Linked DNA regions of Homo sapiens: region 2 is linked to region 1. The links are contacts of gene promoters, found by promoter capture Hi-C in blood cells and fetal thymus (Javierre and others, 2016). All regions are on one chromosome and are shown on one strand. The core of a region is centred on a gene start or on the middle of the fragment in contact, and the rest is flanking DNA. Distances in the headings are between cores, read along the strand shown. Region 1 holds the start of DOCK9-AS1 (DOCK9 antisense RNA 1). Region 2 holds the start of FARP1 (FERM, ARH/RhoGEF and pleckstrin domain protein 1).

Region 1 (2,992 bases), core at 172-2,671:
TCCTGATACACTCAAGTTCCTCTACAATAACAGTGGTCACACTTGTACTCTCAGAGTTCCAGAGCTTGTCTGTGACCTCCATTAGACTACACTCCATGAGGGCTGGGAGAGGGTTGTTTTGTTCATGGTTGTATCCACGAATCCTATGTGGACAATAAATATTGTTTTTTAAAAAAAGGGTTAAATACAGAGATGGAAAAGGGACACCTACCATGTGTTTGTAGAAAAAGAGAGTTTACAAAAATACACAAGTTTGGTCATTATCTTGGCTGGCTCTCAGAGCAGAGAATTTAGGATGCTTTAATTCTGCAGAGATAGCAGATGTGTCAGCAGATAGAGGACAGAAAAGAACCACTTAGGTTGGGCTTCTTGTTCCTTACCTAAAATGTTTACTATTAAGCATCCTCACATAGGTTCTAACACTTCTTGATTCAATGGAATTTTAGTCAGTCCAATATTGATTCAATATTTAAATGTCAATTTACCAACAGAAACGCATCTCAGGCCCATATCTTATAGTAATGGAACATGAAATAAACCAAGCCAGCAAACGTGGCTTCCCAGTTTTCCAGATCTTGCAGTATCTTTATGACAAGGTAAATTGGTTAATGTGATACTCAAAGTTTTCCTGATACAGCAGGATTCTACAGAGTAAATCTGTATTGGAAAGCTAAACCACACGCACTTGCAAATGTGTCCGGACAAAGGACTTCTTTCCAGTGTAATCAAAGTTGTTCCTCATCAGGAAGTAGAGCAGCTGGGAGGCCTCCGTCCTGATGGAGCTCAGCTTGGAGTTACAGCACTTGAGAATCTCGTAACACAGAGCCGCACACATGTCCGCTCTCCCTTCATAGAATGTTGAGGGAAACTAGACAGGATGAGAGGAAGCAGCAGATAAACCACAGACAGGTCAGTGCTCGGTAATGTACCCTTCAATTCCGGGGGAAGAAGGAAAACATCTAACCACTGCCCATGAAGCAACTTACCTTATAAATTAAGGACCTTAAGGCAGTGAAGACATTTTTTAAAGCCGTTTCAGACTGATGTTTTTGAAGAAAACACAGGTAGACATCAAAAACTTTTTTCATGAGAGGATTATGTCCATGGTCGGCCAGGAGCTGGTTCTTAAAACACACATTGACGGCTTTGTTAGACATACCAGTCACCTCTAGTAGGTTTCACACAATTTCAGGCTCAAGAATTACATTTTCTAAGTATTAAGACAACTTATACTTTAAACAAACTCTGCCTTGAATCCTCTAGGAAAGTACAGAATTCTTTTGTAGAACAAGCAAATCTATCAATACATTTATGTTTTGGGGATGAACCTCCCAGCAAACTAACAGAGTTGAAAGGAACACTTGCTTAGTACTGACTGGGCTTCTATTTATTAATATGTACTCATTTTTACTGTCCACCAGCAGCTGATACAGAGGTGCCATTTGTGACATCTTAATTCCAACAGAGAAGTGCCATCACAGGTATGCGATAATTATAGATGGGAAAAAGTACTCAAGTAAGGTATATGAAACAGGTCTTCGAAAAGGGAAAAGTGATCTCCCCAGGCCTCTAAGGCACTCTGCTAAGCTATGAATAATCAGAGAGTTTGGTAAGGTGGAAAGTGTACAGGCTTTGGTCAGGTACCACTTATCATAGGCATGAATTTGCACAGGTAAACTGAGTCTCAGCATCCTCATCTGTAAAATGATGACCCTAAAACTGACCTTGAACAGCGACTGTGAAGACATGAGATCAAGTGTAGAAACCATCTGACGCATACTTTGGTCTAGCTCAGTAGGTGGCATCTAGTAGGGTTTTGACATTCGTGGATTTTACTTATCAAAGAAAACAAGAAGACTACAATTTGCTTCTAGTCATTCAAGATTTCCTCATGTCAGTAGAAAATTCACACAAATTAAACACTTTGGAAGCCTGGTTGGCTACAACTCCCATCAACTGTAGAATATACACAGCAGCTAGAGGTGTGGCCCAGCAAGCAGCCAGGATGAACTTCGTGTCTAATGTGCACAACACTAAATGACACACCACCACCTTCCAATACAGACAAGCTGTCTGAACAAAGCTCTGTTGGGGAACGATAGGTGTGTGCATTCTGCACAAGTAGGCAGATTTGACATTAATAAAAAAAAATGTCAAGAGGCCAGTATCTCAAACCAATCTTACAATTTGGCCAACGGAACAGGGGTAACTTATGTCCATATAATTTTGCTACATAGCAAATTATGGTTGCGGTCATAGTTTCAGAGCAAGATCTACCTTGTCTTGTTGTTGGAGGGAAATTTTTCCTCAAGGAGTAAGTTTTTGTTTTTTTTTAGGTCCAGTGAATTGTGAATCTATCACAGCTGGCAGAACACCTGGAATTCACAGTGATCTTTCTATCATGAAATACTAAGGTACCATATTGAATTCCGTCATGTGAAAGGGGAGCAATTTAATGAGCAGAAAGTGGGACTAATTAAATGAATATGATCTAATTCTCAACCATGAGAATTAGTTCTCAACCATGATCTAATTCTCAACCAAAAAAAAAAAAAAAAAAGATTTCCAGTGTTTGGGGAACTGCTTACAAGTTTTATCTATGAATGCCATTTTCTCAGGAGCTGTAGTTTGAAAGCCTTGCTTTCCTCCAATGAATTTACATTCCTAATTATGACTGGATTAAGGTTTGGGTGAATCTGGAGGTGAGCTTTCATTTCTTAGCACTCTTTGCTGAGGCTATCCAGGAGATACGGTTTCTACAAAAATTCCCAAGCTTCCAAGTTCTGCTGTCTGAACTGGCCCATGTTTCTAATGTTTCTCCACCTTTCCCATGTTTCTCTACTTCAGTTCAATTTCTCCTCCTTTTCCTCTCTATGGTCATGGCCTTTACTTCTCATTTTCAGGATTCAGTCCTCTTCAGCCCTGATCTCAAAACTTGTTTGCAAGAATGGAGTTAAAGCTCATTTACATTATGTATCCCATAACCTGTTGT
Region 2 (2,992 bases), core at 264-2,763, 690 kb before region 1:
CAAGTGTGATCCCAGGACCAGAGCAACATCACTATCTGGGAATTTGTTAGAAATGCAAACTCTCAGGCCCCACCCCAAACCTACTGAATCGGCAGCTCTGGGGATGGAGCCTGACAGTCCTTTATCCCTGCAGGCGATTCAGATGCTTGCTAAGGTTTCATTAGGTAGGTCGGGGATGCGGCCCAAGAATGTTCATTTCTTGACGTTTCCAGGGGCTGCTGGTGGTGGTCGTGGTCTGAGAACCACACTTAGAGAATCACGAGCAGAAAAAAATCTGATCTGTGACACACAGCTGGTTGGGCTGACAGAGCAAAGCCTCAAACCCACCATTTCTTCTCTTCAACCACAGACCACCAAATCTGCAAGTATTACATCTCTGCTCCTCCCCAGGAGCTGCCCACAAGCACCCCCTACTTCCAAGACCCCTGTTCTTGTCTCAACCCGCCCTTCTATCAGGGTCCCTACACTCCACTTCTGCCCAGCTCCTGTCCAGCTGTGAGTTCACTTGAGGCCTCTCCCGTGAAATCTGCCCTCTCGGTCTGAGGTCAGGGAACTCCTGTAAGACGCAAAAGGCCCACGGTTCTGAGCCAGTGGCCTCCGAAGGCCGGAATCCGCTAGCCCCGGGTCTGGCAGAACGTCACTTGCTGCGCCCTAGGCCTCTTCCCGCCACGCTTAGAGAGAGGGACTGGAGGCTCAGAAGGGGGAAGAGAAGGTAACGCGGCAGCTGCTGGGTGGGGACGGTGACTGTGCCCCTAGATCGCTGCCTCCTGGGTCCTGAATCTTGCTCCCCGCTCCGTAGAGTTCCCGAAACCCCGAAGGCTCTCAAGCACCGCAAGCCACTCCTAACCTCCCCCACGCCATTCCCCAAGGGCACTGTCCCCCGAGGCTGGGCGGGCGGGAACTGTCATGGGATTCGCTCGGGCGGAGGGCGCTGGGCCAGGACGTGGGCGGGCGCGGGGTGGCCGCCGCTCCCCCAAGCTTAAGTCCCGCGCAGCCCGGGGTGGTGCCGGAAGCCCGTGCCTGTGGCTCCGGGGGAGGGGAGGGCTCGGTGGGTCCCTGAAGACTGTCCTCCCCGCGCGACGTCGCAGGCGAAGCAGCCCCAGGCAGGACCTCAAAAAGCGACCTGCAGAGTCCGAGCCCCTGACCGCCCGCCTGCCGCTCCCGGCTTCGCCGTGCACACGTCTCCCGCTCTCCCCGGTTCGTTTTTCGCCACAGCTGCTGGATTCGCGTCTCGCCAGTGGCGCTCCCCGCGCTGCATTAGGTAGCGCCGCGCGGAGCCCGGCCCTGGCCGGAAGCCCAAGAGAGGCGCAGATCCCCGGCGGCGCGCTGGGCTCGGGAGGCCCCTGGGCGCACCTGCCCGGGCGGAGCGGAGCGGGGCGGGGCGGGCGCAGGGCGCGGGCCCGGACGCTGGAGGGGGCTGTGGCTCTCCCGCGTCCCCGCTGCTCGGGCTGCGCGGCGCCCGCCTCCCCCCGCCGAGGGGCCGGCCCAGACCCGGGGAGGGGCGGTGGCCACTGCACTTCCCGCTCGCCGGCCTCAGAGGCGGCGGGTCCGGCGCGGGCGCAGCGGTGCGGGCGCTCGGCTGGGGCGCGGGGCGGGGACGCGGCCGCTGCCCGCTTTGCGCCGCTCCTCCCTGCGCGAGTAGCGCTGGCCCCGGCGTCGAGGCGGCCATGGCGACCCGGAGCCCGCTCCCCACCCACCCCGCCTGCTCCGCCCTCCCCTCCGCCCCGCGCCACCTTTGATGGCTCGGACCTCAGCCGGCCACCGCCAGCCCTGCTCGCGCGCCCGCGCCGCCGCCGCCCGCGGGTATTAATAGCCGGCGCCGCCGCGCCCTCGGCCGCCGGGGGCTTGGGAGCCGCCGATCCCGGAGCCCGAGCCGGGAGAGGGAGCCGCCGCAGCCGCCGGCGCTGTGGAGGTAGGAGGCGCGCGGTGAACAATGACCGCGGCGGGAGGGCGGGGGCCGGCGGGGTCCGGGCCGCGGGCGGCAACTTGTGCGAGTCCAGGCTCCCGCAGCGCACGGCCGCGGCTGCGGGCGAAGGTGGGCGCGTGGTCCCCGAGGTCCTGCCCTGCGCAGTCGGGCGGCGGGTCGGGCCCGGGCAGCCCCGGCCACCATCGCAGGAGCTCGGGGGCCTCGGGGCTCCGGGCTGCCCCCTGCGCCCCTCTCCCCTCACCTCCGCCGACGTCGGGCTGCGGGGCTCCGCGCCGGTCCCCGCTCGCCTCCCCCGACCCCGGCGCCCTTCCCCCGTTTCCTTCCGTCCTACCCGCCCGCTGACAGCGCTGGACGCCGCTTCCGGACCTCGGGCCGCAATCTCGGCCCCTGAGGCCGGTTGCGGGCCGGGGAGGTGGCCGCTGGCGCGGATGCCGCCGGGTGCCCGCCGCTCGCCCACGCGCGGCGCGAGGGTTCCCGGCGGGTGACAAAGAGGAACACACCCTCTGCCCAAGTTAGATTTGTGTCTCTCTTTACTGTCTGCCTTTATGCAGGGCAAAGTTTTTTTTATTTTTTATTTTTTAAAGCAAAGGACAGATTGCTTTGCGGCGAGTATTTCCAAACAACTTCTGATTGTGGTTTTACGATTCAAGTTCCGGAAACTTTAGCTGTGTGATCCGGCTGGACCCCGGAGACTCTGTGTGTGTGTGTGTGTGTGTGTGTTTTATTTGAGGGGGGGAAATACGAATTCCCTGTAATGAGTCTGGATCTCGTTTGTGGCAGCTGGAGGCCAGCGGCTGTTGGGGATCGAGTAGGGTTCCCCAGAAAGGAGGGAGCTGAGGCTCACAAAGAAGCGAGGCCCTGGTATCTGATCAGTTCGTGGAGACGTGGGAGAGCCTGCTTGTCATCTGGAACAGTTTAGCAGCCTCGGCCTCCCTGTCTCTCCCAGCCCTGGGGAGTACCGGTGGCCTCTGGCCGTTTCATTATATTGTTGTTAAGGCTCTTCTCCTTGTCAGTTTACCAGGTTTGACCGCCCAGCCCTGGTCTCTGCGTGGAAACCCCCGGGGG

The links. The method cuts DNA at HindIII sites, captures the fragments that hold promoters and counts their contacts. A CHiCAGO score of 5 or more calls a contact.
Region 2: the fragment with the promoter of FARP1 here is called in contact with the fragment with the promoter of DOCK9-AS1 in region 1 in 1 of 17 cell types (M2 macrophages); the score reaches 5.5 in M2 macrophages.

The regions. Positions count from the first base shown.
Region 1 is chr13:98,830,663-98,833,654 of GRCh38, forward strand. DOCK9-AS1 (DOCK9 antisense RNA 1) reads left to right here and starts at 1,422. Exons shown (of 3, transcript NR_046663.1): 1 at 1,422-1,481; 2 at 2,337-2,414. It overlaps DOCK9 (dedicator of cytokinesis 9), which reads right to left. Exons shown (of 53, transcript NM_001366683.2): 40 at 987-1,124; 41 at 686-868. The HindIII fragment of the contact is 4,269 bases long and covers 1-2,771 here.
Region 2 is chr13:98,141,581-98,144,572 of GRCh38, forward strand. FARP1 (FERM, ARH/RhoGEF and pleckstrin domain protein 1) reads left to right here and starts at 1,514. Exons shown (of 27, transcript NM_005766.4): 1 at 1,514-1,912. It overlaps LOC105370328 (a long non-coding RNA gene), which reads right to left and starts at 2,330. Exons shown (of 3, transcript XR_931670.4): 1 at 2,259-2,330. RefSeq lists silencers at 965-1,014, 1,255-1,564. The HindIII fragment of the contact is 2,199 bases long and covers 977-2,992 here.